Regions from separate parts of the Homo sapiens genome. Here all the other regions are linked to region 3. Evidence: promoter capture Hi-C in 16 types of primary human blood cells and fetal thymus (Javierre and others, 2016). All regions are on one chromosome and are shown on one strand. The core of a region is centred on a gene start or on the middle of the fragment in contact, and the rest is flanking DNA. Distances in the headings are between cores, read along the strand shown. Region 1 holds the start of KLHL42 (kelch like family member 42). Region 2 has its middle 21 kb from the start of BHLHE41. Region 3 holds the start of TM7SF3 (transmembrane 7 superfamily member 3). Region 4 overlaps PPFIBP1 (PPFIB scaffold protein 1). Region 5 overlaps PPFIBP1 (PPFIB scaffold protein 1). Region 6 overlaps REP15 (RAB15 effector protein). Region 7 has its middle 3.6 kb from the start of BHLHE41.

Evidence for each region. Contacts are between HindIII fragments. The CHiCAGO score rates a contact against its expected background, and 5 or more counts as called.
Region 1: a contact is called between the fragment with the promoter of KLHL42 here and the fragment with the promoter of TM7SF3 in region 3, in 1 of 17 cell types (activated CD4 T cells). The highest score is 5.1, in activated CD4 T cells.
Region 2: a fragment that was not itself captured here is called in contact with the fragment with the promoter of TM7SF3 in region 3 in 1 of 17 cell types (fetal thymus); the score reaches 6.6 in fetal thymus.
Region 4: a contact is called between a fragment that was not itself captured here and the fragment with the promoter of TM7SF3 in region 3, in 1 of 17 cell types (activated CD4 T cells). The highest score is 5.6, in activated CD4 T cells.
Region 5: a fragment that was not itself captured here is called in contact with the fragment with the promoter of TM7SF3 in region 3 in 1 of 17 cell types (megakaryocytes); the score reaches 5.9 in megakaryocytes.
Region 6: a fragment that was not itself captured here is called in contact with the fragment with the promoter of TM7SF3 in region 3 in 1 of 17 cell types (M0 macrophages); the score reaches 6.5 in M0 macrophages.
Region 7: a fragment that was not itself captured here is called in contact with the fragment with the promoter of TM7SF3 in region 3 in 1 of 17 cell types (fetal thymus); the score reaches 5.9 in fetal thymus.

Annotation. Positions count from the first base shown.
Region 1 is chr12:27,778,760-27,782,239 of GRCh38, reverse strand. It overlaps KLHL42 (kelch like family member 42), which reads right to left and starts at 2,007. Exons shown (of 3, transcript NM_020782.2): 1 at 1,038-2,007. The coding sequence starts at 1,909. It overlaps MANSC4 (MANSC domain containing 4), which reads left to right and starts at 2,004. Exons shown (of 4, transcript NM_001146221.5): 1 at 2,004-2,030. RefSeq lists an enhancer at 1,491-1,990 and silencers at 1,856-2,165, 2,186-2,405. The HindIII fragment of the contact is 8,648 bases long and covers 1-3,480 here.
Region 2 is chr12:26,102,207-26,106,207 of GRCh38, reverse strand. No RefSeq gene overlaps it. Among named protein-coding and RNA genes, the nearest start is that of BHLHE41, 21 kb to the left of the region's middle. The HindIII fragment of the contact is 4,994 bases long and covers 1-3,993 here.
Region 3 is chr12:27,012,743-27,016,291 of GRCh38, reverse strand. TM7SF3 (transmembrane 7 superfamily member 3) reads left to right here and starts at 1,908. Exons shown (of 12, transcript NM_016551.3): 1 at 1,908-2,214. The coding sequence starts at 2,124. RefSeq lists a silencer at 1,716-2,215. The HindIII fragment of the contact is 5,016 bases long and covers 1-2,899 here.
Region 4 is chr12:27,533,553-27,537,590 of GRCh38, reverse strand. The region is part of intron 1 of PPFIBP1 (PPFIB scaffold protein 1); the gene reads right to left. Among named protein-coding and RNA genes, the nearest start is that of PPFIBP1, 11 kb to the right of the region's middle. RefSeq lists an enhancer at 2,959-3,008. The HindIII fragment of the contact is 1,212 bases long and covers 1,175-2,386 here.
Region 5 is chr12:27,649,585-27,653,548 of GRCh38, reverse strand. It overlaps PPFIBP1 (PPFIB scaffold protein 1), which reads right to left. Exons shown (of 30, transcript NM_003622.4): 7 at 3,408-3,539. Among named protein-coding and RNA genes, the nearest start is that of REP15, 45 kb to the left of the region's middle. The HindIII fragment of the contact is 2,418 bases long and covers 393-2,810 here.
Region 6 is chr12:27,697,350-27,701,186 of GRCh38, reverse strand. It overlaps REP15 (RAB15 effector protein), which reads right to left. Exons shown (of 1, transcript NM_001029874.3): 1 at 3,591-3,837. The region is part of intron 3 of MRPS35-DT (MRPS35 divergent transcript); the gene reads left to right. Among named protein-coding and RNA genes, the nearest start is that of REP15, 2.8 kb to the right of the region's middle. The HindIII fragment of the contact is 3,800 bases long and covers 512-3,837 here.
Region 7 is chr12:26,126,738-26,130,582 of GRCh38, reverse strand. It overlaps a transcript of SSPN not described here. Among named protein-coding and RNA genes, the nearest start is that of BHLHE41, 3.6 kb to the right of the region's middle. The HindIII fragment of the contact is 706 bases long and covers 1,205-1,910 here.

The DNA.
Region 1 (3,480 bases), core at 758-3,257, 770 kb before region 3:
AGTCAAATAAACAGATATATAAAGGATTCTCTGTTACTGTTAAGACTTTCTTTGCCCAGCTGTGAGCTCCCCAACTCCTTGCTCCACACTTCAGGACCAGGACCCTGTGAGGATTGAGATGGAAACACGTGGATGGGAAGAAAGGGTATTTTCATCCTTTCTTGAGTTACATTGATTCTTTTCCCTGCTTCTGAATGACGCTGAGGCCTCCTAGGCGCTACCATCTTTATTTCCTACCATCTCTTCCTGTATATGCTCTTTGCTCTTGTTTTGATATTCCTTCCCTGGTTCCTTTCCCTTCTCCCCTCTCATCCCACTCCTCAAGCTCCTCCTCTTCCTTTCTTCAAGTCACCCTTGTTGGAGGCAGGAGAGATTTGCAGGATGGGAGGGGGAGAAGGTTGCGTAAATGAAAATATTCCAATTCTGTAGTTGAACACTTCCAGGCTCAAGCTGTGGGTCATGACGATGGCTGTCCAGGGAAGGAAGCAAAAGAGAGGATAAAAAATAAGAAAAGCAACCCCTATTGCAAACGTTAATACATTTCCAGTGATTATCTCTTGATCATGATGGGTATCACAGTGTGGAAGACTCTGTTGTCACAGTCACTGACATCAGAAAAAAATCCCCCAAAGTCAGTGTTACAGGTTACTGTCCAGTGTATCATTATCATCAGGATCAAATCCTAAAAACTAAGACAAATTTTTTAAAAATTAAGGGGCAATTTTCTTTTAAAGTATTCTTGTAGGAAACCACAACATCTTTTTTCACAAGAACAGAGGCAAAGAAAGCAGTTTCACCTAAAGGCACAATACCTGCCAAAAAACCACTCCACTTCTTGACCTCACTGGGGACGTCCTCTTCGCAATTTCTTAGTTCATTGGGAATTTTGCCAGCGCCAAGGCCAACAACATTCCTGAAGATGTCATTTCCACCACAGCACACCCTCCCCTATTTACTGGCTCAGTAAACACTGGGGTAATGAACTAATGAACAAGTGAATGAATGAGAAGGCAGCAGCACTCTGCCGGGGTGCTTACCTCTTCTGGTTCATGGAGGCCACCTGGAGCCACTCGTTGGTGCTGGGGTTGTAGGAATGCGCAGCGGAGATCTCCTGGCTAGTGATCCTGTACCCGCCCACTATGAAGAGGTAGTTGTCCAGGATGGCAGACCCATAGCCCCTGACATTGACCAGGTCGGGAGGAAGGTTGTTGGCCAGCGGGAACCAACGCTCAGTCATCTCCTCGTACCTGAGCATGGACGGGGGCTCCCCCTGGTAGGGGTGAGGGGCCAGGGGTCCCCCCAGGAAGTCCCCGAGGGCCACGAGGACAGGAGTCCCAGTCATCCGGGCCTCCCTCAGCCTCTGCTTCAGGCTGACATCCCCTGGAGCTTGGGGAGGAGACCCCAGGAGGTGGAACTGGGGCTTGCACAGCACCTCGTGGAAGTGGACGACCATGAAGCGCAGGCAGGCCTCCTGCAGGTCGGGCAGCCCGTACACCTGCGCCAGGCGGTACATCTCCAGGCAGTTATTGAGCCGCACCTGGGACAGCAGCAGCTGCAGCAGGGACGTGACCTGCAGGAAGGAGGCCGCCTCCACCAGCTCGGACAGCAGGCTCACCTCATCCATCTCCTCGTCCTCGTCCACCCCGCCGCCCTTTTCCCCGCGCGGGCCCAGGAGCCAGCCTTCGCGGGCCCCGCCGGCGTTGATGAAGTCCAGCACCAGCCGCAGGCCCGGCGCGCTGAGGCCGCGCAGCTGCTGCACCTCCGGGCCGCCGGCCTCCTGGCTCAGGGCCTCGCGCATGCCGGAGCGGTAGAGGGCGCGGAAGTAGTCGCTCTGCTCGATGAGCTTCCTCTTGCTCACCGGGTAGCAGCGGTCCTCCAGGCGGATCTGCACCATCTCCTCGGCCGACATGGCTGGGGGCCCCGGGGCGGCAGCGCTCACCGCCAGATCTGCGCGCCGGCCTCCCAGCCCCTACGCGCGCGCCGGTTCCGGGCGGGGCGCCGAGGGATGGCGGCCCGGGAGGAGCGGCGAGGTGAGGGCCGCCCGCGCTCGCCCGGCCTCTCCGGCGGCCCCTCCTCCCGGGGCCCGCTCCCGCGAGGCGGCGGCCCTGCCCTTCTCCTTTCCCTCAGCGCCAAAAAAGGGCCGGCGGAGCGCGGCGGGCGTCCTCGCGCGGGCTCTCCCGGGCGGCGCCAGGCGGGAAGGGAATTCCAGCTCCCAGCCAGCAGCCTCCTCCCCCGCCGCCCTTCTCACTTCCGCCCGCGGGACCCCAGCCGCCGGCCTGACCTGCCGGCTGGATCCGGCTCTCGGGGAGGCCCGGGAAGCTGCGGGCCCGGGCGCCTCGGCTGCGGACGCGCAGCTGCGGGAGGCGGAGGGCGCGCGTCCCCGCAGCCTCTCCGCCCGCCCGGGGCGCGCCGGCTCCGCCGCTTGTTGGGGGCTGCAGTGATGCTCCGGGGTACCCCAGGGAGAAGAAATTCGTTTTCTCTCCCACGCTGCTTTACACGGGCTAAAGAAAAAGAAATGAGCGTGGGAGGAAAGGGAAGGATGGAGTCTCTGGTCCAGGGAGACAAAAAGGCATCAAATATGGGGTCGTCCTTCTGGCCCAGTCCGGCATCGAGTGTCAGTGGGCTGAGGCACGCAGGCGATCTATGGACAGTTGGTGGCAATGTTGGTGGCACGTAGAGCTGATTCTCTGGTAGCGTGGTCGCGTAGGAGCCATCTTACAGGAGGTCCAGGCAGATGGCAGCAGGTTCTCAGAGGAATCGGGTTGGGAGGCAGGGGAGCTTGCATTTGCCACTGGGGCCCCTTATTCTCCCTAAGTTATTAAAAGAAAGATGAAAGCGCAGCCCGACTAAATAAAGTTACATCACGTGGCTTCTGGTTTTAAACCATGTTTTCTATGAGCCATTGCTTTTCTACTTCAGTCCAGTCCATTACGGAATGTTATCCTGGCGCAAAAGATCTGACAAAATTGGCTCATAAATGTCTGCAAGAAGTAGCTTTTCTTGTCACCCCCTTTCTCCACCTACCCTGCCCCCATCATCTGAGGACTATTAAGAGAGACCACACGTGCGGTTTGGCTGAGCGCGGTGGCTCACGCCTGTAATCCCATGACTTTGGGAAGCCCAGGTGGGCAGATCACGAGGTCAGGAGTTCGAGAGCACCATGGCCAACATGGTGAAACCCCGTCTCTACTAAAAATACAAAAATTAGCCGGGCGTGGTGGCACGCGCCTGTGATCCCAGCTACTCGGGAGGCTGAGGCAGGAGAATTGCTGGAACCCGGGAGGCGGAGGTTGCAGTGAGCCGAGATCGCGCCACTGCACTCCAGCCTGGGCGACAGAGCGAGACGCCGTCTCGGAAAAGAGAGACCACTTGTTTCCTATGTTCTCTCACTGAACATTGCAATTAGAAGGCCCACCCCAAATAATAATAGGAAGGACTTTTTGTCTTGCTAATGAATTCATCCCAGGAAGGGGGTGGGGG
Region 2 (4,001 bases), core at 247-2,746, 910 kb after region 3:
CAATTTACTCTCAAATGTTTCAGTTCAAATAGTCATATGAATAGCAATAATATGTATATTTGTAGAGGGAGCAGGAGAGATCTTGATAAACCACATATGGAAAATGTTATCAGTGGTGAATCTAGATGAAGTGTATATGGGAATTCATTGTAGGATTTTTGTAACTTTTCTGTAAGTTAAAAAAAATTTTTTCAAATAAGGAATAAATAAAGCATCCCCTTCAGTGTGGACTGGACTTAATGATTCATTTCTAAAGATTAGAGTAGGGAAAAAAATAGTAACTTTACGGTGGAGAAAGTTGACAGACACCACCTTAAACAAGTGATATTAACCAAGTGATCATGGTTAATATCACTAGTGATAAGTCAGGTGGATATCATGTACCCATTTATATTAAGTGATGCAAGGGCATGTCACCTCTGTGATTTTCTCACTCACAATTTATAACCCAAATTGGCCAGGTGCTGTGGCTCACGCCTGTAATCCCAGCACTTTGAGAGGCCAAGGCGGGCGGATCACTTGAGGTCAGGAGTTCGAGACCAGCCTGGCCAACGTCGTGAAACCCCATCTTTACTAAAAATACAAAAATTAGCTGGGCGTGATGGTGAGCACCTGTAATCCCAGCTACTCAGGAGGCTGAGGCAGGAGAATCACTTGAACCCGGGAGGCAGAGGTTGCAGTGAGCCAAGATCGCGCCACTTCACTCCATCCTGGGTGACAGAACAAGACTCTGTCTCAAAAAACAAAAAAAAATTATAGCCCAAATTAAAAACTGAGTGTCCTTAATATACCTTTCCTTAGATACCCTTTAAAACTGGGTACATATTAGCCATTTCATTTTCTTTCTACCTACATAAGACGCATCCATCTCTAGAGAAATGAGGATATGTGTTTATGAATTTTATTTCAATTTTAGAGTCCAGAGAAATTTATGACATTTTTATAATACAGTGATTTTTTTAAATGTGTAGTCCCATTTTAATACCAATGTCAGTGTTACTAAATAAATGCCATTCATAACATTTAAAGAAGGAAGAAGAACTCCACATATCTGGCTTTGAAGGTGGAGGCCGGGGGCCAGCACTAAGGAATGCAGGAAGTCTCCAGAAGCCAGGAGCAGCCTTCAGCTGACAGCAAGGAAACAGGGACCTCCGTCCTACAAGGGAGCCTCCCCTAGAGCCCTTAGAAGGGAACACAGACTGTCCTCTTCGATTTTAGAATCATCTTGATTTTAGTTTGATATGACTCACTTTGACTCTCTGACCTACAGAATTATAAGAAAATGAATCTGTATTGTCTTATGCCACATGAAGTGTATATGGGAATTCACCCTATATATACTAAGCCAGTAAGTTGTGATTGTTATGGCTGCAATAAAAAATGAATACACTAGGCCTCACTGAGATAGTAGGAAAGTCTTGAAGGAGGTGAGAAAGGGGGCCATGAGGAAATCAGGGGGAAGAGTGTGCCAGGCACAGAGAACAGCAAGTGCAAAGGCCCTTGCTAGGAGCATGCACAGCACAACCAAGGGACAGTCAGGAGGCCAGTGTGCCTATGATAGAGTGAGCAAGGAATAGATTTTAGGAGAAGACATCAGCATAGGAGGATTTGCCTTCTCTGTTGTGAAATCGGACTGATTGCACTTCCTACCCAAGCTGGGAGGAGGAGAACCACCTTGCCCTTTATCTGATTGAGAAATTAGGTGCTCAGCCCTAAATCCTGTCCCCCACTGCCCAACTCCGTTCACTCGAATGGTAGTTTTGAAGCATCCTCATTTGTTTGGCTACTTCACCAATAAGGCCAACTCTTATATAGTTGGCCCTACCAGCCATCTCCAAATCACCCATTTCCAGGACATGGTTATCAGACCTGATGAGGTGGCTTGCTGTGGCTCTGCCCACTTTGAAGGTCAGCATGGCCATACTCCTTTATAAACAGTAATCTTTCTTATACCTGCCTCTCGGAGATTAGGATTCCTTTCCTGAAAGTTGGTTACAAGAGCCCCGATGTGCTGGTTTTTCTCATAGGATTTAGCATCAACCTGCAAAACATATGGAATTTTCAATATTCAACTCTTCACATTGTGGTTTTAGGCGTTTTATCTTTCTGGCTTTGGAGAATAGATATTTTGGCAGATGTAAAGGTGATTGGCTGTCTCTACATCTGTCAAGCTCCAAAGCACTGTTACCAAGCATCAGAGACCATATTTCAGGGAATATTTTCCTTCTATTTTAACTGAGTCTGTGATAAACTGGATGTGATTTGCCTTAATATTGACAGTTTCTGCCCAAAGCACATGTGATTGGTTTGGGTTGAATGACCGCCACCCTTTCTCTCATGATGGGAGAATATGTGCTCTCCAGCTTGTACAGAGAACAAAGTAATTGAACCAGAATAGGATGAAAAGAATGTCTCCTTATTTCTATTTTTGTATTCTCCTGAAAGTCCCCAAGTTGAATACTTCTGATGTATTTACATTTATTGTTCCTGTTCTTGAAATTGATGTAGGGTGGGCATTGGGTCCTGGCTAATTATTAATTTAAGTACCCCCAGTACCTACCACCGTGTCTAGCATCCAGTAAATATTTTTAAAATTAATTCACTCAACCATCCCCTCATAAAATGAACAGCCTTTCTACATTTTTTATGTCTCTAATATTGGAAATTGGTAACATTTGGTGGCATTGACCATTTATTATGTACCCGATAAAAGCATTCCATTATCCTTTAATTCATTGGTTGAAAATAGTTTGGAGGAAGTGTTAGCTCATGAGAATAATATACTCTTAATTTATTAAACATTTATAGTAAATTAACAGAAAAACTTAAACAAAATTTAAAAGTGAGCCCAAAGGGATGAATTGATGAAACATTTTATCATGTTTTATAACTGAAAATACAGTCTCCTAGATAGATACATTCAGTACCCTGTGGGTGAGGAGATGTGGTAAAATGGGTGTGAAGTAACTGATCTCAGTAACACTCCTCTTTCTTTAGTAACTGAGGCCTCCGTGTGACTGCAGACATCAACCGAGTGCTCATAGCTTCCTCGTGATGCCTGGCCAGTGTTATGATACTAGGCAACCCAGTGTCTCAGGACCAACAGCGGAATAAACTTTGGCAGAGATCTATACGAGTTATTTCCTTTCTTACACTGCACAATTTCCTAGACATTCAGCCACCCTCTCATCATCAGACCTGCTGAAATCCATAATAAGCAACAGGCTATTAGATAAAAATAGTGGAATAAAACTGCAAATAACATTCTCCCCAAAATGCAGAGATGTCTGTCCTCCGGGAATATTTTATTCAGCTCTGGCGGCTATAGCGAAATACCATAAACTGGATGGCTTAAACAACGAATACTTATTTTTCACAGTTCCAGAGTTTGGAAGTCCAAAATGAGAGTGTCAGCTGGCTGGGGTTCTTCGTGAAGGCCCTCTTCCAGTTGCAGACAGCTGACTTCTCACTGTATCCTCATATGGCAATAAGAGGGTTCACTAGCTCTCTGGGGCTTCTTATCAGAGCACGAATCCCATTCATGAGGGTTCTACCCTTATGACCTTATTAGCTCCCAAAGGACCCACGTCCAAATACCATCACATTGGGGATTTGATTTCAATATATGAATTTGGGGGTAGGGGGCACAAACATTCAGTCTATAACATAAAGGATGGAAGATTCTCATCCTGTGATCTCCTCTTTGGACCAGTAGTATTTGCTTATTAAACCTGGACGGATTTCCAAGTGCAGCTAAGTACACTTGACATGTTAATTTAAGGATATTGCTTAAATCCAATTGTGCTATCTCCAATATTCATCTTCAACAGAGAAGACATATCTAGGTTATACAAATCCTACATGTCATCTAGAGAAAGGTAATGTATCCAGAATGTACAAATTGCAAGTTATCATCAGATAATTGTCTGGGCAGACAAAGCAAAGGCAAAAAACAGCTAAGGTCCTGACCACAGAACTCTGCTCTCTTAAGCTTTGTGCTC
Region 3 (3,549 bases), core at 659-3,158:
GTGTATATTCCCAGTATCCCTACCTAAGAATGCCTCCTTCTTAGCTCTTTTATCCACACTGGATGTTTTATACTTTTAAAATGTTTACATCTTAGTTTGTTAATTTGATTTTTTTATTTGTTTACTAGTGAGATTGAACTTTTTTCATGTATTTACTGGTAATTTGTATTTCTTTTTTGGGGTGAAATTCCCCATTCATGTCCTTTGCTAATTTTTTTTTTTTGGTCAACTTGCCTTTTCATATTGTTTGTGTGTTTACTTTAATAAAATTTAAATATTTATGTAAAAAGCATTTACGTAGCCAAGTCTACCAATCTTTTCCTTTATGGTTGTTTCCTTTGCTGTTTTGCTTCTTAGAAAGCTCCTCCCATTTTGAGATCAATTTATTAAAAAAAAAAAAGAGCGCCCTCTTCTGCTAGCTCTTTTATGGTTTTATTACTTTGGGATTTTGTTTTCACAATTAGTGTGAGATAGAGTTCTGCTTCTCTCTGCCCATAGTGCAGCTAATCAGTTAAGAACACAATTTATTGAATAATCCATCCACTGATTCAGATGCTACCCTTATCATAATTGTCCCTTTCATCTTCCTTGGATTTCATCTACTGAGGGTTATAGGAATAGGGGCATGTGGGAGAGTGAATAAGCACTACAGAAATAGATAGTGCTACCAAAGGTGTGAAAATTTGGACCAGGCAGTGGGAAAGCAGAGAAAGAATTGTGCCTATGACAAAGATTATTTGCTTGGCCAAACTCTAGTACGGCTTCTGAATCTTCTGCTAGGTCCATCTGTGCACTTCTTTGTAAAAATCCAGTTTTAGCAAAGAACCCCCTTTCCTCCATATCTAATCAGTTTTCTCACCCTGCACCATCCCCCAGGTGATGTTATGTCTTCAGAAGTCCTGTTAGGTCAGTTTCACCAAATGCCCCTTACCTCTGATGCTTCCTCTTAGTAATTTTCCATCCACTGAACTCCATACTGCTGGTTGGCTATAAATTCCCTCTTGCCCACGCTGTATTCGGAGTTGAGCCCAGTCCCTCTTCCCCACTGCAAGACCCAGTTGCAGTGGTCCCTATGCCAATTGAGACAGTCCTCAATAGTCTTCGTTCGGTGCTTTAACAAGTATCATTGAATAATTTTGTCTTTAACACTTCTTCACATTATGGTCACAGCTATATATTGTTAGCTTAGTAGTGGACTAACTGAACATGTAATTTCCAAGCTATAAGTTGCTCATCAAAATATATAAGTGAAAAAAATTAAAACCAGGGAAGGAAAGCAAGACAATCCTCCCCAAATAACGTTAAGTCTATGCGTCTAATTCCACATCATCGATGAGCCATCTGTCACATGGACTACTGTCCCTCAAACAGCACTCAGGTATGAGACTTGAGACGAAGTTCAGACCAAGGCCGTGTCTTCGAGGATATTTCGCTTAGAGAAAACGAAACTACTTTTAAATGTAGTGCTTATGACTAGTGCGGTAACCACTACACAAACAGCATTCTCCTGGCATTTTTATGCTAACATAAGCCTCAGCAGCGAAGACAATTGCTACCGGGGGAAATAACCTTCAATTGTGTTTTTAGCAACTGATTCCTCTTTTTTGCTGTTGTAAAGGGCCGTTAAACACGGAAACAGGAGCCTGGCGACGTTAGTCCGCAACAGAAAGTTATTTTGTACTTTCACAGTGGGTTTGCCTACTTGGTGAGATAAAAGTGGGGCAAGACCGGGCCTCAAGCCAGGACTTCCTGGGGGCTCCCGGGAGCACCGCAGGCTGCGCGTTCCCCGCGCGCCGGCAGGAGGCGCGCGCTGCCTGGAAACGCCCCAGCGCCGCCCGCGCCCAGAGACCCGCCGCTGTGACGCAGCGAGAGCCCGGGAGGAGGCGCGGGAACGCGCGTTGGGGGTCAGGTGCCGGAAGAGGAAACCTCTCGCTGGGGCTAGGAGTTCGGCGGGGCGCGCGCCGGCGGCTGCGGAGCTGGCAGGTGCGAAGCGTCTGCACCTGGCGGGCGATGGCGCCCGATGCGGGCGCCCCGGGATAGCGTGGGCGAGGCTGCGGGGCCCCGGCGCGCACGCCCGCACCTCTCCCCAGCCCTGGCGTGGGCCCAGCCCGGCCCAGGCAGCAATGGGGTTCCTGCAGCTGCTGGTCGTAGCGGTGCTGGCATCCGAACACCGGGTGGCTGGTGCAGCCGAGGTCTTCGGGAATTCCAGCGAGGGTAAGGTCGGGGCGCCTGGCTTCTGCAACCCAAAGTTGCTTTTGCATTTCTTGCGAGGTCAAAATCCGCCAGGGGTCTGTCAGCCTAGCAGGGAGATGGTGCTGGGGGCGTTGGTACACGCTGGGTGGTGAGTCCAGAACCGGCACGAATGGTGTTTCCTGCAGCGGAAACACTCATGGCTAAGGAGGTCTTACTATTAACCTCCTCATTTAGCGGAGGAAATGGGAAGAGATAAATAATTCTCTTTTTTTAACACAGTATTATCTCCCTTAGGGAGCAGCCATGTTTGTGGCTTTAATTCAACTTACTAAAGCGCCTCTTTGCTGCCCAGTGGACTGTCTGAGCTTCTGGACAGCAAGACTTGGGGTGGAACTAGCGGCTTAATGACTGATGGCTCTCAAGCTGCATGGAATTTTTACACCCCCAAATCTAGAGGCTTTTCAAACTGGTTATGTTCTACAGAGTTTGAGAGGGAAAATGAACCCATAATGAGGCTTTATTTTTAAAGAGCCTTTACCATCTAATTTATTAATACCATCTGGAGACAGGAAAACATTCCATACTCACAATGAGAAATAAAGGACTTTCTGAATTACAGATACATAGACATACAGATAGAATGTGTATACCCTCAATTCTACAAGTTCAGCCACAAATGAAAAATAAACACAGAAACACAAAAGCTTGCCAGTCCAGGTATCAGAGTTGTTCTCCTTACTTGAGGGCAAGAAATTTCTAATCGATTTGACCTTAAAAAAGACAAATGGACAAAAACTGTGTTCTCTGTTGTCTCATATCCAACAGGAAATAGATCTCTATGAGATATTAATTCGTTTACAGAGATCACAAAATTCCCAATCATTGCAGCTACCAACAGGAAATAACTTGTCATCCATAAATGAACTGTAAAAAATAACAATTTAATAGAGAGTAAAACTAAAATGAGAAAAACAAGAATCAACGAAGTTCTATTGCCACTTCAAATTCACCTGTGGGAGCCAAGAAGCAACATGCCCGGGCTTGGCTCCCTATGAGTACACCATTTTTGATGATTTCAGGTGACTTTTTTTTTTTTTTTTTTTGACGGAGTCTCGCTCTGTCGCCTAGGCTGGAGTGCAGTGGCATGATCTTGGCTGACTGCAACCTCCGACACCCGGGTTCAAGCAATTCTCCTGCCTCAGCCTCCAGAGTAGCTGGGATTACAGGCGCCCGCCACCACACCCAGCTAGTTTTTGTATTTTTAGTACAGGCGGGGTTTCACCATGTTGTTCAGGCTGGTCTCGAACTCCTGACCTCGTGATCTGCCCGCCTTGGCCTCCCAGAGTGCTGGGATTA
Region 4 (4,038 bases), core at 531-3,030, 520 kb before region 3:
TCTCCATGCAGTCTCCACCCCGGGAACACAGGATGAGAACTCTGCTGTAAGCCATGGCTCACAGGAGGTCAAAGAAAGCTTTGGAGTAGGCAGGGTGGCCTGGAACCAAACTTACTTGGAAAATTTGTCTGGCAGTAAGGTGCAGAATAAGGAAACGGGGGGCCGGGCGCGGTGGCTCACGTCTGTAATCCCAGCACTTTGGGAGGCCGAGGCCGGCGGATCACGAGGTCAGGAGTTTGAGACCAGCCTGGCCAACATAGTGAAACCCCATCTCTACTAAAAACACAAAAAATTAGCTGGACGTGGTGGCAGGCATCTGTAATCCCAGCTACTCAGGAGGCTGAGGCAGGAGAATCACTTGAACCAGGGAGGCAGAGGTTGTAGTGAGCTGAGATCACACCATTGCACTCCAGCCTAGGTGACCGTGAGAGACTCCGTCTCAAAAAAAAAAGAGAGAGAGAAGGGACTACCTGCAGGGCTCCAGTAGGAGACAACGGCAAGGTCTGTATCAGAGAGAAGGAGGATGCGAACCCAGATATACTGGTAGGGGGAATGAAGAGTGATTAAAAAATTATTGAAAGGCAAAAATGACCTTGCTGATGACCAGAAGAGAGTCCCCTAGGCTACCACCCACAAACCTGTTACATTGCAAACTTTAATAATGAAGCTGAGACGTTAGGACCAAGGGAAACTTAGCCTCAAAAGTGAGCTCTTTGACTTCTGAGACATCTTCATGGACCTGTGACCTGGGCAGTAACACAGGACCCCATGCTCAGAAAAGACCCACAGTTGGTTTAATACTCTACTGTCACCATCTTGAGAATGATAATAATTTTGAATTTGCGTTTTGTAAGTCAGGTCCAATGGGACAATGGAGCCCACAAGTGAGCAGAGGAGAACGATGTGATATGATTTGGATGTTTGGCCCCTCCAAATCGCATGTTGAAATGAGATTCCCACTGTTGGGGGTGGGGCCTGGTGGGAGGTGACTGGATCGTGGGGGCGGATCCCTCATGAATGGTTTAGCGCCATTCCCCTTGGTGAATCTTGCTCAATTCGTTCATGGGAGATCTGGTTGTTTAAGAGTCTGGGGCCTCTCCCTTCTGTCTCTCTTGCTCCCTATCTCACCGTGTGACAAGCTGGTTCCCCTTGCCTTCTGCCATGATCGGAAGCTTCCTGGGGGCCTCGCCAGAAGCAGATGCTGGCACTATGCTTCACGTACAGCCTGCAGAACCGTGAGCCAAATAAACCTTTTTTCTTCATAAATTATCCAGTCCTAGTTTTCCTATATAGCAATGCAAAACAGCCTAACATACGACGTAATATGTACAGCCACCATTCCTGGCCTCTCTATTCACACAGTTTTCCCAATGCACCATGAGCTCAGAATTCCCGTGAACTCCTGGTGCGTGGGAGTTCAGCAAGACTTCAAGCGAGTGCAAGGTAAGTGTGTTACCAATACAACTGAGTAAGCAGGCAGGTGGGTGCTGACTGCCCAAAGAGGCAATGACTTCCATTTGAACCAGAACTTGATTGCATACAGAAATGTCTTTCTAAGAAACACAAATGACCAAGGAGGCTTAGCGTTTTATCTCTTTCTCATGTTACTTAACCATATTAGCCAACCACTTATGCTGAAAATGACGGCACAAAAGGAAAAGGAAAGATAAGGCAACTCATAGTTGCTTCTCCTTTCAGTCTTTCATTACACATCATAAGCCAAAGGTAGGTAGGTGTCAGTAGAATGTGCACATGTCAAGAAGTGAAATAAAAGTAGTTTAGTTTTGTGCAGTGTTTCTACTGTTCTCATAACAATATACATATGCGTCGACAACTTCAGTAATTCTGCATATGAGTTCAATGCTCTATATTTTCATTTAAAGCCAGCATTGCACTGGGCGCAGTGGCTCACGCCTGCAATACCAGCATCTTGGGAAGCCAAGGCAAGAGGATTGCTCGAGTCCAGGATTTCAAGACCAGCCTGAGCAACATGGTGAGATCCTGTCTCTACAAAAAAAAATTGCCAGGCACGCATCTGTAGTTCCAGCTACTTGGGAAGCTGAGGGGGAGGATCACCTGAGCCCAGAAAGTAGAAGCTGCAATGAGCCGTGACCACACCACCTCGCTGTAGCTTGGGTGACAGAGTGAGATCCTGTCTCAAAAAACAAAACAAAACAAAACAAACAACAACAACAACAAAAACAACATTGTATAATAAAAAGATGAAGAGTAAATTCATGCTAAAAACTTCACTGCTTAGTTTTTTAATTTTTAAATTGAATTCATGCTGTAATTTTAATTTTTAATTTTTCTTCACATAGAATGACAAGTAGCCAATACTATGACAAGTCAAGAGAAAAAAACTGTATGAGAAAGGAAAGAAGCTTCATATTTTAGTACCTTTAACAGCACTTTTTTCTTGCCTTTTGAATAAGGGGTCACACATTTTCATTTTGCAACAGGCTCCACGGATTCTATAGTTGGCCCAGCTGAAAACCATTGAACTCAAGAATATTATGCCTATCAATTTATACTGTACACACTTGAACAAGCCTTTACTGACATCTTTCAAAGCAACCACCATAAGACCCACCAATGGACTGATGGGGTAGTGGTTTTCAGTACCACATTCTTAATCATTGCATTCTTCAATCCTTTTCTCACATACCCCTAATGTCATTACCACAACAAATCTGCTGAAATGCCACAAGCCTATGTCTTTTCAACTAAAGATCTTTCTAGAAATAAGTAAACTGAAGATCAGAGACCACCTTATCAGGAGGAGAATTTAATCCAGTGCTGTCTCTGTTGGACAACTCCTTTCTACAGAGTATTTCCTGGTGCTTTGATGTATCTGTTTTAACCAAACCCTAGCTGTGGGCTCCAAAACCAGTTGTCTCTCACCACTCAGAGCTCAGGTTTCCCCCAAGAAGTTGGCCTGTGAACCATCAAGTCTGGTTGTCTAAAAATTCCTCCTTCAAAGACAGTCAAGTTTCCCTTTGTCTAATTTCATTCTCTTTTTTTTTTTTATAACCACTACTTTCCACTTCAATAAACCAACTTCCTGCCTCGAGACACATTCTGGCAAATGTGTCAGTTTGTATTGTTCAGATGAGAGACTTCTGTCATTCTTTCAAATTTTTCCTCCATGACAATAATCCCCAGAGCCATCCTCTCAGGAGCCTGAGTTACTTGTCTGTGAATTTCCTTTCACTGCTTCTTACTCTACTGATAAATCAATGCAGACCGCCTGCAGTGAACTTACTCAATTCGTATCCCTTCTGATCACATCTTTTTTTTTTCCATTTCCCCTATCCTCTCTTCCATCGCATCAGAAGAAGGGTTCTTATGGATTTCGAGGCTAACCCACTGCCCTCCACTTGATTTTGGGTCTAGCCCCATCTCTCTACCCTGGACCATGCACTCATTCCTTCCTCCCTTTTTCTTCTTTTAATATCCTCCTCTCTACCTGAGCCTTCCTCAAACCCAAGCTATCTACCATGTCTCTCTCGGATCAGTTCCTTGAAAGGATGAACTAACCAGGCCACCTGCAGTTCATCAGCCCCCGTGTAGTCCTCAATTTTTTGCATTCTGGATTCCAGGTTCATGAACTGACCTGACAGCAGGACCAGGGACAGTCTGTTGGATACAGCTTTGTAACGAGTCTGTTGCACTGGATGGCATGATTAGTTCACTTACGTTGTGCTTCTTCCCTTGGCCACCATCATCCTCCACTTCTCTGCAGATCCTGCTCTATCTCCTCTCCTAACTTCTTTTTTGCCTGACCATTTCTAAATATCAGGAGTCCCCTGAAGACTGTATGCTTGCTTCTCTTTTTACTCTACATACTCTTGTTCGGGGAGCTCAACCATTCTCACTCTTTACATAACAGCCCTATAGAGATGATCCATTAGTCCAGGCTTTGGCCTAAACTCCAAGCCTAAATTTCTAAATTCTTGCTTAACATCTTCATATGAATAATGTCAACTAACAGTTCATACTGGCTTTTAACACCCCAAGTACAGAACCATGCCAGAG
Region 5 (3,964 bases), core at 352-2,851, 640 kb before region 3:
GTGCCGCCATCTCAGCTCACCGCGACCTTCGCCTCCAGGGTTCAAGTGATTCTCTTGCATCAGCCTCCCCAGTAGATGGGATTACAGGCACCCACCACCATGCCCAGATAATTTTTGTATTTTTAGTAGAGACGGGGGTTTTACCATGTTGACCTGGCTGGTCTTGAACTCCTGACCTCAAGTGACCCGCCCTCCTCGGACTCCCTAAGTGTTGGGATTACAGATGTGAGCCACTGTGCCCGGCCAGCTTCTCTCTTTTTACAAAGACATGCATGTATTCCTGCATCACAAATTCATAGACTACAGGACAAAATTATCCACGAATGCCAAAAATTACAAGTAGAACAATGCTATATGAAATAAAACTTTGTAAATAGAAATTATTTTAAGCTTCCAAGTGTAATGATTCAAGTTCACAAAGGCTAAGAGAAGGGATGCTACAATAAAATAACACTTCCCAGTAAACCCTTAGGCTTTTAAATTGTGGTCTCTTATAAAATGGGGCAAAATATTACCTATCATAGTTATACAATTACACCTTAATAATGGCACAATATTTCACTTAGATGATATCTATTTTCTTCTTATGAATTAGGTCATGAACTGTTTGACATTATTCAGCAACATATTTGTGATTCCTCAACTAACAGGTCAGAATTCAAGTCTAAAGAAAAAAATCAGCTTTTCCCAGTTATCTAAGCTAATCATCCTTGCATAATATGAGTCCTTAGTGATATTCATCAATATGATCTTTCTAAATATATATTTTCCTACTTTCTCATTGCTAAGAAATACCATTGAATTCTTATCTGCTATTGTATTTTACAGCTTCCTTTCTTCTTTGCTCGTGCAAAGAAGAAACCACTGAAAAAAATGGAATTGTAAACTGGGATAATTTATCTGTTTTAACAAAAAACTACTCAACTATATTTCATGGCAATACTTTAAATATGGTCTAAATTTCCAACCTGAAATAAATCACATCTTCCCCTGACAACACAAGCTGGAAAATCTGGAAATGGCTCCCTAATGTAAAACTTTAAAAAACAGAATACAAACTATTTCAATCAATTTCTTATCAGAAGTTCAGTCCTTTTAAAAAAGAAAATTCCTGTTCCCTTTCTCTTTTCCCTTTCAGAGAATTCAGGGCTCCTGCAGGAACTCAGTCTCTGACATGTATGCTCTTACCACAAGGGGGCACTGTTGAATGATGCTAATCATCTCCCATTAGCAATTCCAGGGACAAGTCCTGAATCTTCCAAAGTTTAAAGACTTGTACCCTCAGTCCTTTGGAAATGCCTATACTTCTTCCCCATGCCAATATTTTCTTGGAAATTAATATCCAAATATAAATCTAAAATTCTAAGAGAAAGTTAAATATTATGGATTCATGAAACACCCAGAAAAATATTTTTATTAAGGGGACGATAACAAGAACATGAGAATATTCAAGTTAGTTTAATGTTGAAGATTATTTTAATTATTTTCATATGTAACATCACAAAGTTTACCACATATGCTCTAATCTCCGGGTCTGTGCATACGTTTTAGAAATAACACTGAATTTTTATTAGATTATCAGGGATTGAGTGTACAGGAAGTTTGATGACAAGATCACTTTGTATGTGATTGAGAGTGCATGAGTGAAACAATGAAAAAGTGGGGAAAAGAGATTTGATTAAAAAAAGCAGCCAAACTCAAGGGATATAAATATTACCCTAGGCGCTTACAACAATAAGTAACACATCTACTGCAATTTAGCCCCAACATTTGGTTAACATCTCATATACAAATTAAGTTAACAACAGGTGAATATTTCCCCTTGACTTTGTGGACGCAATGTAGAAGACCACCTCTATCCATATCTACCATCAATTCTTCCCTGCAGCAGAGCTAGCTCCACTGCCATGTTGCCCATCTGTTGACTGAGTTTTACTATTACTTTACCCTGCGACTATGGGGTTAGGACCTGACAAAAAGAGGGGAAAGAGGAAAATATCAAAGAGATTTTTAGAGAAAATACAAAACCAAGAATTTTAAATTGGGTAACTTTCTAAGTCCTGTTTTAAGAGCCCCAGCTTCTATCAAATGAGAAACATGCTCACACAGGCAACTGACAAAGAGTTTTAAAATTAAAACATGGCTGGGCATGGTGACTCATGCCTGTAACCTCAGTGCTTTTGGGAGGCCAAAATGGGAGAATTGCTTGAGGCCAGGAGTTCCATACTAGCCTGGGCAACACAGTAAGATCCTATCTCTTAAAAAAAAAAAAAAAGATTAAAACATGAACCAAATGAAAGACTTCCTTTTGCTATGGAGGAAGCAAGACATATACCAAGACTTTCCACTGTAATTGAATCTTTGACAGAAAATTTAATTTTGAAAATAGCAGTGGAGTAAAACTTGTTATTTCCAATATAAAGAACTTTCCTATGGTGGATAATGTATGTAATGCCTGGTATCATGCTGGCTTATAGTCAGCGTGAAATACATGATTGAAATAAAAACAGAAGGGAAAAATAAGTAAACCATTTTCTCTCCTCTCTCCTTGGTACCCATTTTCTAATCCAGCATGACACCCTTCCATACTCCAACCAAGGAAACAAAATAGGAAGCAAAAAGGAGGGGAGATGGCTCTCAGAGAAAAGAAATTTCTGCAACTCTTTATACTTCATTTCAAATGTATGTTTCAAATGGATATGCTCTCTGTCTCCATCAAAAACCAACAGAGAGGTTAAGAACTTGCCAAATGTCACAAAGCAAACAAACTAGGAGGCCTGAATTAACAAAATAGAACAAACAATAAAGCTTGTTAAGCCACTAAAATGGATACTTCAAGTTACAGAATGTACCCTGATTTTTGTAGAAGTACAGTGAGTCTTATTTAATTGGAATGATTTACATGTGGAACAGACCAAAAGTAGAATGCCAAATTAAAAGACCTCAAAAAAGCTCTGTCTGTGATTTTGTGAGTATAGAATGTTAGCATGTTTTCTATACAGATTTTCAAAATCCAATTACATAGTAAATAATCAGTGTGCCTAAATAATAACTACTAGTGAAACCATGTATTTAAGCCCATTATTTACAAAATTAAGAAAAACAGTATGGATGGACGGATGCTCCAAATATCGTAAAGTCAAAAGTATTTCTAAAGGTTAATAAAAAGATTAATACTTCATATCAAAAGTCTAAAAATAAAAATTGCCATTAGCATCTAGTGATAAAAAGTCAATGCAATGAAAGATTATTCTTAAAATGAAGTAGGATGATGGTACGTAGTAATTAACTGCCTTCCTTGCACACCTCCAGGGAATTTCAACTTTGCCCTAGGAATGTATGTGTGTCAGAGACAAAGACAGAGTGACAGAGAGAGAGAGAGAGGGAGGAGAGACTGTATCACTCACCTCTGTGTCTCTGAACTTATCTTCATAATCCAATCTGTCCTTCTCTACAGCTGTCAGTTTCAACTTCAAGTTAGATATTTCAGCCATCAGATCCAACTTCTGAGTTTCTAAGGATGTCCTACTTAGAAGCTCCTATTATAATTTAACAGATACATTCAAGAAGTCTTTTATTATAAACAGGCACGTGAATTTACCTCATTTATGATCGCACAAAGCAGCACCTATCAAGTAGAGGATATAGTGAAGTATAATTACTGAATCTACACACTTTTAAAAAATTATTCACTTGAGGCTGGGCACAGTGGCTCATGCCTGTAATCCCAGCACTTTGGGAGGCCGAGGCAGGCAGATCGCTTGAGGTCAGGAATTTGAGAACCAGCCTGGACAGTATGGTGAAACCCTGTCTCTACTAAAAATACAAAAATTTGCCGGGCATAGTGGCGGGTGCCTGTAACCCCAGCTACTTGAGAGGCTGAGGCAGGAGAATTACTTGAACCCAGGAGGCGGAGGTTACAGGGAGCGGAGATCGCACCATTGCACTCCAGCCTGGGCAACAG
Region 6 (3,837 bases), core at 1,162-3,661, 680 kb before region 3:
TGAGACAGGGTCTCACTGTTGCCCAGGCTGGAGTGCAGTGGCTGGTTCTGGGCTCACTGTAACCTCCTCCTCCTGGGCTCAAGCGATCTTCCCACCTCAGCCTCCCAAGTAGCTGGGACTACAGGCACACACCACCACACCAGGCTAATTTTTGTATTTTTAGTAGAGACAGGGTTTCATCATGTTGTCCAGGCTGGTTCCAAATTCCTGAACTCAAGTGATCCGCCGGCCTCAGCCTCCCAAAGTGCTGGGATTACTACAGGCGTGAGATGTTTTGAAAATATGCATTTAAACATCTGCACGTGTTTGTCTGTCTTCCACCATTAAGATATAAACTCCCTGAGACTAGGAACTTTGTTCTTTGTACTGCTAGATTGGCAGGGCACAGAACAAGCCCGACATGTAATAGGCACTCAGCAATTATGTTTGAATGAATCTATCTTCCATTTACACTTTTAAGCCTTTTTTTTTTTTTTGGCAATATATTAACCCAAATTGCAAAAGCTAAGCTTGACTCTATGCTATTGGAGACTTCACTACCAAAAAGAAGAAACAGATGTCTCTGCCAATACTCACCTTCTTTTAAAAAAGTCCTTTTTAATTGACAAGTAATTGTGTATATCAATACTCCATTTTATTAAACACTCTTTCATGCCAGCTTCTAATGAAGGACAACTACAAGGCCACAGATATGTTCTTCCTATTCCAGGTTCCTCAAGGAGAGGGCTATGGGGGTGAATAAACATTGACGGGAGGGAAAACAAAGCCATTTCTTGAGGCTGAAGAGAATATACATCCCTTTCTTCTTTCCTGAAGCTGCAGGCATCATGGGGATTATGAATGCTCCTTTCCTCGCTTTCCCCCAGGACTTCTTTGGGAGATAAAGTTGAAGAGAAGGGATTTGGGGGTTGGTGTTCCCCAATGTTGCAAGGCGTATTTTAATTTGAAGAACACCAGGCTCAATGGAAAGAAAACAGGGCATGCACTTAAGCCTAAATCTAGATTGAAGTTAATGACGCGCCTTTAGATTCACTGTGGATCCTGTTTACTGGGCTGGATAAAGAATCAAAGAGTGGATCTGGATTATCGTACTAAGCACTTTTGATTTTTTTTTCTTTTTTCTTTTTTTTTTTTTTTGAGACGGAGTCTCTCTTTGTCACCCAGGCTGGAGTGCAGTGGCGCCATCTTAGCTCACTCCAACCTCCACTTCCCGGGTTCAAGTGATTCTCCTGCCTCAGCCTCCTGAGTAGCTGGGATTACAGGCATGTGCCACGGCTAATTTTTGTGTTTTTAGTAGAGATGGGGTTTCACCATGTTGGTCAGGTTAGTCTTGAACTCCTGACCTCGTGATCTGCCTGCCTCAGCCTCCCAAAGTGCCGGGATTACAGGTGTGAGCCACCGCGCTTGGCTATTCTTAATTCTATAACGAATAGCAGTTCTACGAGGTGGGTATTGTCATCTCCGGTTTTTAGATAGGAAAATCAGGAGGCATTAGGGCTACAGAAGAAATCAAATGGCACCCTCAAGTCTACCTAAGGAAAAAGTACATCTACAGGGTGGGGGCAGGGTGCAAGGAACTAACAAAGAATGATGAAGCACCCCGGAAGGGACAATGGCCTGAGAGGGGAAGGGGAGGGAGCTGGAGTCTCAGAGAAGGGCCAGCTGGACAGGAGCTGTCTGGAACCAAGCATCGTAGTGAGGCAGGGAAAGTTGGGCTAATACATTCCAGACCTGTCCCCTTTCTGATCTCGTGCTCTCCACTGGATGGAAGCCAGAGTGATGCAGTTAGAGCCCAGAAGAAGGCAGACAAGGTGGGGAGTAGATGTGGAGGTTGAAATGAGAATAACCAGCACAGAGGTTTGGTTGGATACGTGTAAATAAAAGAGCTGGGATTTTAAGCAGGTTTGTCCTCAACTAAACTCGAAAGCTCTCACTCCTTCTACCATGACAAAGTTTTTACGACTCTGCATTGTGGCCTATTGCTGGTCATGATATCAATTTGGTGGCTTGCAGTCAGCATTTTACAAACCGATGTAGGACAAACTATCAGAGTGCACTGCAACATGCTTCAGTTATACAGATCACAGCAACAAATGTATTTCTTACTATGGAATACCTGCATGACGCCACATTGCGCTCATATGTCTTAATTCAGCCTCACAGGAACATGCCCTAAATTCCAAAATACAGAAAAGGCCAAGGCCATAAGAAGACTGTCAGAAACAGAAACGATTTTAAGAGGTTGGATGCAGTTGAAAGGATTCAGCCCATGTTTCTAATGGCTGCGTATCAGTGAACAGGTGGTTCAACAACAGGAAAAGTAGCCACAGATTAAGGCCAGGAAATGGAGGAAAAATGAGCAACAGTAACCAGCTAGCATTTTTGCAGGTGAACACCTTTGTTGTCTCAGCAATTCCAGTAGTTTAAAATCAGAGAATTTTCTTTTTATGTATTTATTGAGATGGGGTCTTGCTCTGTTGCCTAGGCTGGAGGGCAGTGGCACGATCACGACTCACTGCAACCTTGACCTCCCGGACCCAAGCAGTCCCCCTACCTCAGCCTCCCAAGTAGCTGGGACTACAGGCACACATCACCATGACTTTTTGTATTTTTTGTAGAGATGGGGTTTCACCATGTTGTCCAGGCTGGTCTTGAATTCCTGGGCTCAAGCAATCCTCCTGCCTCAGACTCCCAAAGTGTTGGGATCACAGCTACTCTTCCTGGCCAAAGAATTTTCTTTTCTTCTTCTTTTTTTTTTAATTGATTTTTACTTAACCTAATTTATAGGCTTACAGGGAATTTTCTTTACACGACTGTAGAATATGGGCTTTGTAACTGGGCAGACTTTACTTTTTTGTTACAAGCCACTTAATAGATTTATGAGTTATCTAGCCTCTTTGATTTGGCAAATAGAAACCTCTTAGAGTCATGGAAGACACATGCAAATCACGCTAATATATGTAAAGCATCTGACTTGACTTACAAGTGCAATAAATAATGGTGATTCCTTTTTGTACTGTTATAATTCCACACTGGCTTTTAAGTAAAAATGGTTATTATATGTGAATACACCTTCCTTACTGCAAAGGCTAAACAAGTATTATTAAAAGGAATAGTTTTATAGGTCACTGTTTTTAAATCATAGGCAGAGCTAACACTAAAGTGAATCTCAAAGTAAATCCCATCAAAGTCCTCTCAGTGCAGAGACAGCAGCTAGGGAGAAGACAGAATAAGGTAAGTGTTAGAGGAAAAGAACGCTGTGAGTTTTGTGCAGGAGTCCTGAACCCAAACTATTTTTTTTTTTTTAAAGATGAGGATTCACTCTGTTGCCCAGGCTAGAGCACAGTGGTGCAATCACAGCTCACTGTAGCCTTAAACTCCTGGGCTCAAGCGATCCTCCCACCTCAGCCTACTGAGTAGCTGAGACCATAGGCATAAGCCACTGTGCCTGGCTTGAAACTGGCATTACAAATGTAATTAAACCTGCTCTGTAGCCTTACCCACTACTTTATCCTACCCATCTCCCACCAACAGATGCAAAAACACATTTTATACTTTTGAGTGCTAGACTTATTATTTCAAACAGACACTTTTTTTTTGCAAATCAAACTTTAAATGTGACTTTATTATCTCTCTTCCATTTTTATTATTGAATAAGTGAATGAAATATTAAACTAAATTATAACTTTTCCTGAACTGTTTTTAAATCATAGGCAGAGCCAGGGTTTTCTTTTTTTCTCTCTCTCTCTGTAATTGCGACATGAATGTACTTTGATCCCAGTAATCATTTTCAATCAATGGGAAAACAAATGAAAAAAAATCCCATGCTGGAATGAT
Region 7 (3,845 bases), core at 308-2,807, 890 kb after region 3:
AATACCAGAACCATAGTACTTGTTGGGTAATTGTTATATATGATTTTTCGCTTTAGCTATTAAATAAAAAGTTTTATACCAATAGTTTTGATTGTAAGTCTGGATTTAACCCTCCTTAGCTAGTTTTCTGTTGTTGTTTTTTTAAAGTAGGAGTACCTTTGAAGTCAGAAGAAATATCTGTTACTGACAACTCTCTGCACCAGGAGGACACCATCTGACAATTGATGTAAGGACCGTATGAAGCCCATAGTGGGTGGGTGAGAGAAGTGGACATTTAGTGCATCTTATTTATATTTGAATGTGCTTCACATTGCATAAACATGTTTTTCTTGGAAGATTTTTCCAAGAATTTTCATCAGCAGTAACAAAGGAAACACAGACATTAAAAGGCCCCTCTTCCTGCAGACTTCCACCATCCAACTAGTCCAGACTCCAGAGAAATGGTAGAGAACACTTTGTGAAAGTCCTTAATGGGGTTGTCATCTCCTCCTCATGCTACTTTTCCGGTCTCATTATGGATCCACCTCAATCAGTATGAGAAGCACATGGGCACCATGAGGGACCAGGCAGATACGTAGGGGCAGAAGGGCCAGGGAATCCTCCTATTGTGGTCTTTGGGCTTGGCTCTCTCCTAGTTGTCTTTTGTATGTTAAGAACTCCAGGAATTTTGAGCACACGTGAAATGCAGAACAGCCTGCATGAATGGTTTTGATCATCACATAAATATGAAAATACAAATGATTTCAGCAGAAATAAAATTTATTTCTAATACTCAATATTATCTGCTCCTTGAAGCTATGCAAAGACTAATAAGTGCATAAACTTCTTGAGCAGTGTTACATAAATGTAAAACATGGTTCATAGGTATGTTTATGGCTACAGACACATTAATTGATAGTCTTCAGAAAGACTTAAGGTCCTTTACAAATTAAACGGGGACACGTGTGCTGTTTCTGCTCATTTGCTGAGTATGCAACTGGAAAACCCAATCTTCTATTCTGGCATTTAAAATCCGGTACTTTCAGCAAATAACATCATCAATATTTTAAAGTCATACTGGCTTCTGGTGAGTAGCAGTGGAATTGCCGTCCCTCCTTAAATCCTTCTCTGAGGCACCCTTCTTTCTGTGGTGTGCCTGACAACATTAACTCTTCTCCCTTGAGAGTAGGTGTGCATGCCAAGAGCCGAAATTCCTAGGGAAGCTTTTGTAAGTCCAGATCCCACCCCGCTATCCCCTCCAGGCCTTGATTTTAGCATCAACCCAAAACTTTTTTAGATTGTTTTGGACTCTGCTTAACTTTGATGTAAAACGTCTGCAGATTCTTGTCCGCTCTGTAAAACAGAGGTGATCAAGAATGGCTTCTGCCCTTCAGATGGGCCATTTTCACAGTATCACAGGCAGGAGACTCTACGCCCCTAAGCAGATTTTGGGGCCATCAGAGATGTACAGTTAGTTTGGATCACACTTGGGTTCCTAAAACACCCTGGAGTTAATTCTCCAGAAGGGCAGTAGGGCTTGCAGAACCCTAAAGAGGCAGAAAACCTCTATTCCCCATGGAAACTTTAATCCTTTCAGGCAAGTTCTGTTTCTGTTGGAAATCCAAGACTTTGCAAACAGGATAAGGCCTTCTAAAGTCACAGGGTGAATATAATGAGTGCAGGACTTAGGATATTTAGGCAGGGGGGAGAATTGGCCTAAGTATTTCCTTTCATTAGTGTCTCTATAGGTAATGATTTCCTTACTTAACCAAAGAAAAGCAATGGAAGCAGCTACCCCTCGCCTATTAAAAGGAGAAAGATGGATATCTTTAATTGAAAGCAAAGCATCACAAAATTCTTTAATTATAAGCTCAAAGGGGCTTTGAGCTCATCTTGTATCTTCTTGGCTTTCAGCAGGATAGCATTAAGCTTTCCTAAAAAGATAAGACTCAACCTATTTTAAAACATATCCAAAGATGGCATTCTAGTTTCTGTTCCTTTGTTAGCGTACTTTTTTTCCCTTTCTAACCTCACCACAGGTGAACTTTTCCTATTACTAACCTGAAGTCTTCACATTAGAGCTTGGCTCAGTTTGCTCAGCAGAGCTGGTGAACAGCTGGTCACCATCAGCCTTTTCTAAACTGTACTTCCATCTGTCCATCTGTACAAAATTATAAGAGTTAATTAGGATATTTGGATTTAAATCAATAAATTTGAAGCTAGATGCCAACTGAATGACTCACTGACATGGCAAAAGACTGCCTCTCTTCTTGCCATAGCTTTTCTTATCTCTGTCATCAGCTCCAATGCTAACACCTCTCCCTTTTCCATCTCTCTTGCAAAACTCCCCACACAATTTCATTCACACACACACACAAATGTGCACACTTATACTGGTAAATAGAAAAACATCCCTGAAGCAGCTAGTTAACACTTATACCTTACCACTCACTATTCACATTGAGGTGTAAGAGTCGTCCAGGGTCCAGACTCTCGAACCCACTGTCTGGGCTTAAATCCTGGCTCTGGGACCTTGGAAATATTTTGCAATCTCACTTTGTAAGCATTTTCTCATCTGTAGAATGGAAACAATAATAGTATCTACCTTAGAGGGTTGTGGAAATGATTAATGACTTAATACATAAAAAGCTCTTTGAATGCAGTCTGGTACTCTAATCTTAAAGGCTATATAGTTGTTAGCTATTGTTACACCCTTCTTGCGCAAAGGGATATTCAGAGGCATCAAACTATGCCCAATATTCCAGAAGCCAAGAGTTTGAGAAAGAACAGGAATGGGATTCAAGTTTAAGGGAAGTGGGTAACCAAGAAGAGTCACCAGGGTGAAAGATCAAAGAAAAAAAAGGGCAAAAAGCAAACAGGAGATTGACAGAACTACAGAGAAATGGCAAAAGCTGGCATTTAACAGGGAAAAGGTAGACAGAGAACATAAGGGAAAGGAAGATAAAGAAGAAATGAAAAAGGGAAACATGAGTTAAAAGGTGAATATGTAAAGGAAAGACAGAAAAGAAGAGGAAAAGGGGATCAAGAACAACAAAGGAGATAAAAATTGGGAAAAGACCCCATTTGCAGTTTGAGTAGGTATCACGGGAAAAGGGTACGGAAGTGGGGAAGCTTGGGGCAGAAAGGATGGGGGGAGAGAGGAGCCTCAAAGAGATAACAGAAAAAAGCTTCATGTGTCATTTGCAGCTTTTTGTCCCTTTAAATTATGGGGTGCTGCAAGCTTATTTAACCCACCTTTGAGCCTCAAGGCTCCTGATCGTGTTCCTCCTATTTCAACTTGCATTTAATCTCTGCCCCAGACTTAGCTTCTAAGGTTTGCCCTGGTCAGATGTCTGCCTTGTGTTTTTAGCCCGACGAGGCCAAAATGCAATGATCTTGTCTTTATTTCATTTTCCCTAACCAGTCATCCTTTTCAAGTGAAATTTAGCTCTGGAGCAAATATTTACATCCCCTTTCTACTCCAAACATTCAGAAATCTAGAAGGGGACCTGGTGTTTTAATTTTTAAATTATTCACCTAACGGCATTCCCATTTTTAGTCAATTAAAAAGAGGTAAAAATGATACAGTACTGCAGGAATAGGTCGCTTTTAGGGCTCCAACGTGCCCTCCCCATCGAAGGGTCTTAATTACCTAACCTTTTGGAAATAGGAGAGAGGTCGGACCGAGATTTAAAATAAAGTCAGCATTTTAAAAATACTTTTTAAATTAAGAACCATCGTGATTAAATTGCCTGTTTGGTGCAAAATACGTTCCTCTATTTGAGGAAGTCGAGAGACCTTAAAAGGCCCTCTAAACAGATGAACTGAACGGACCGCGAGCGTCTCCTCACGCCGGGGTGATCCTG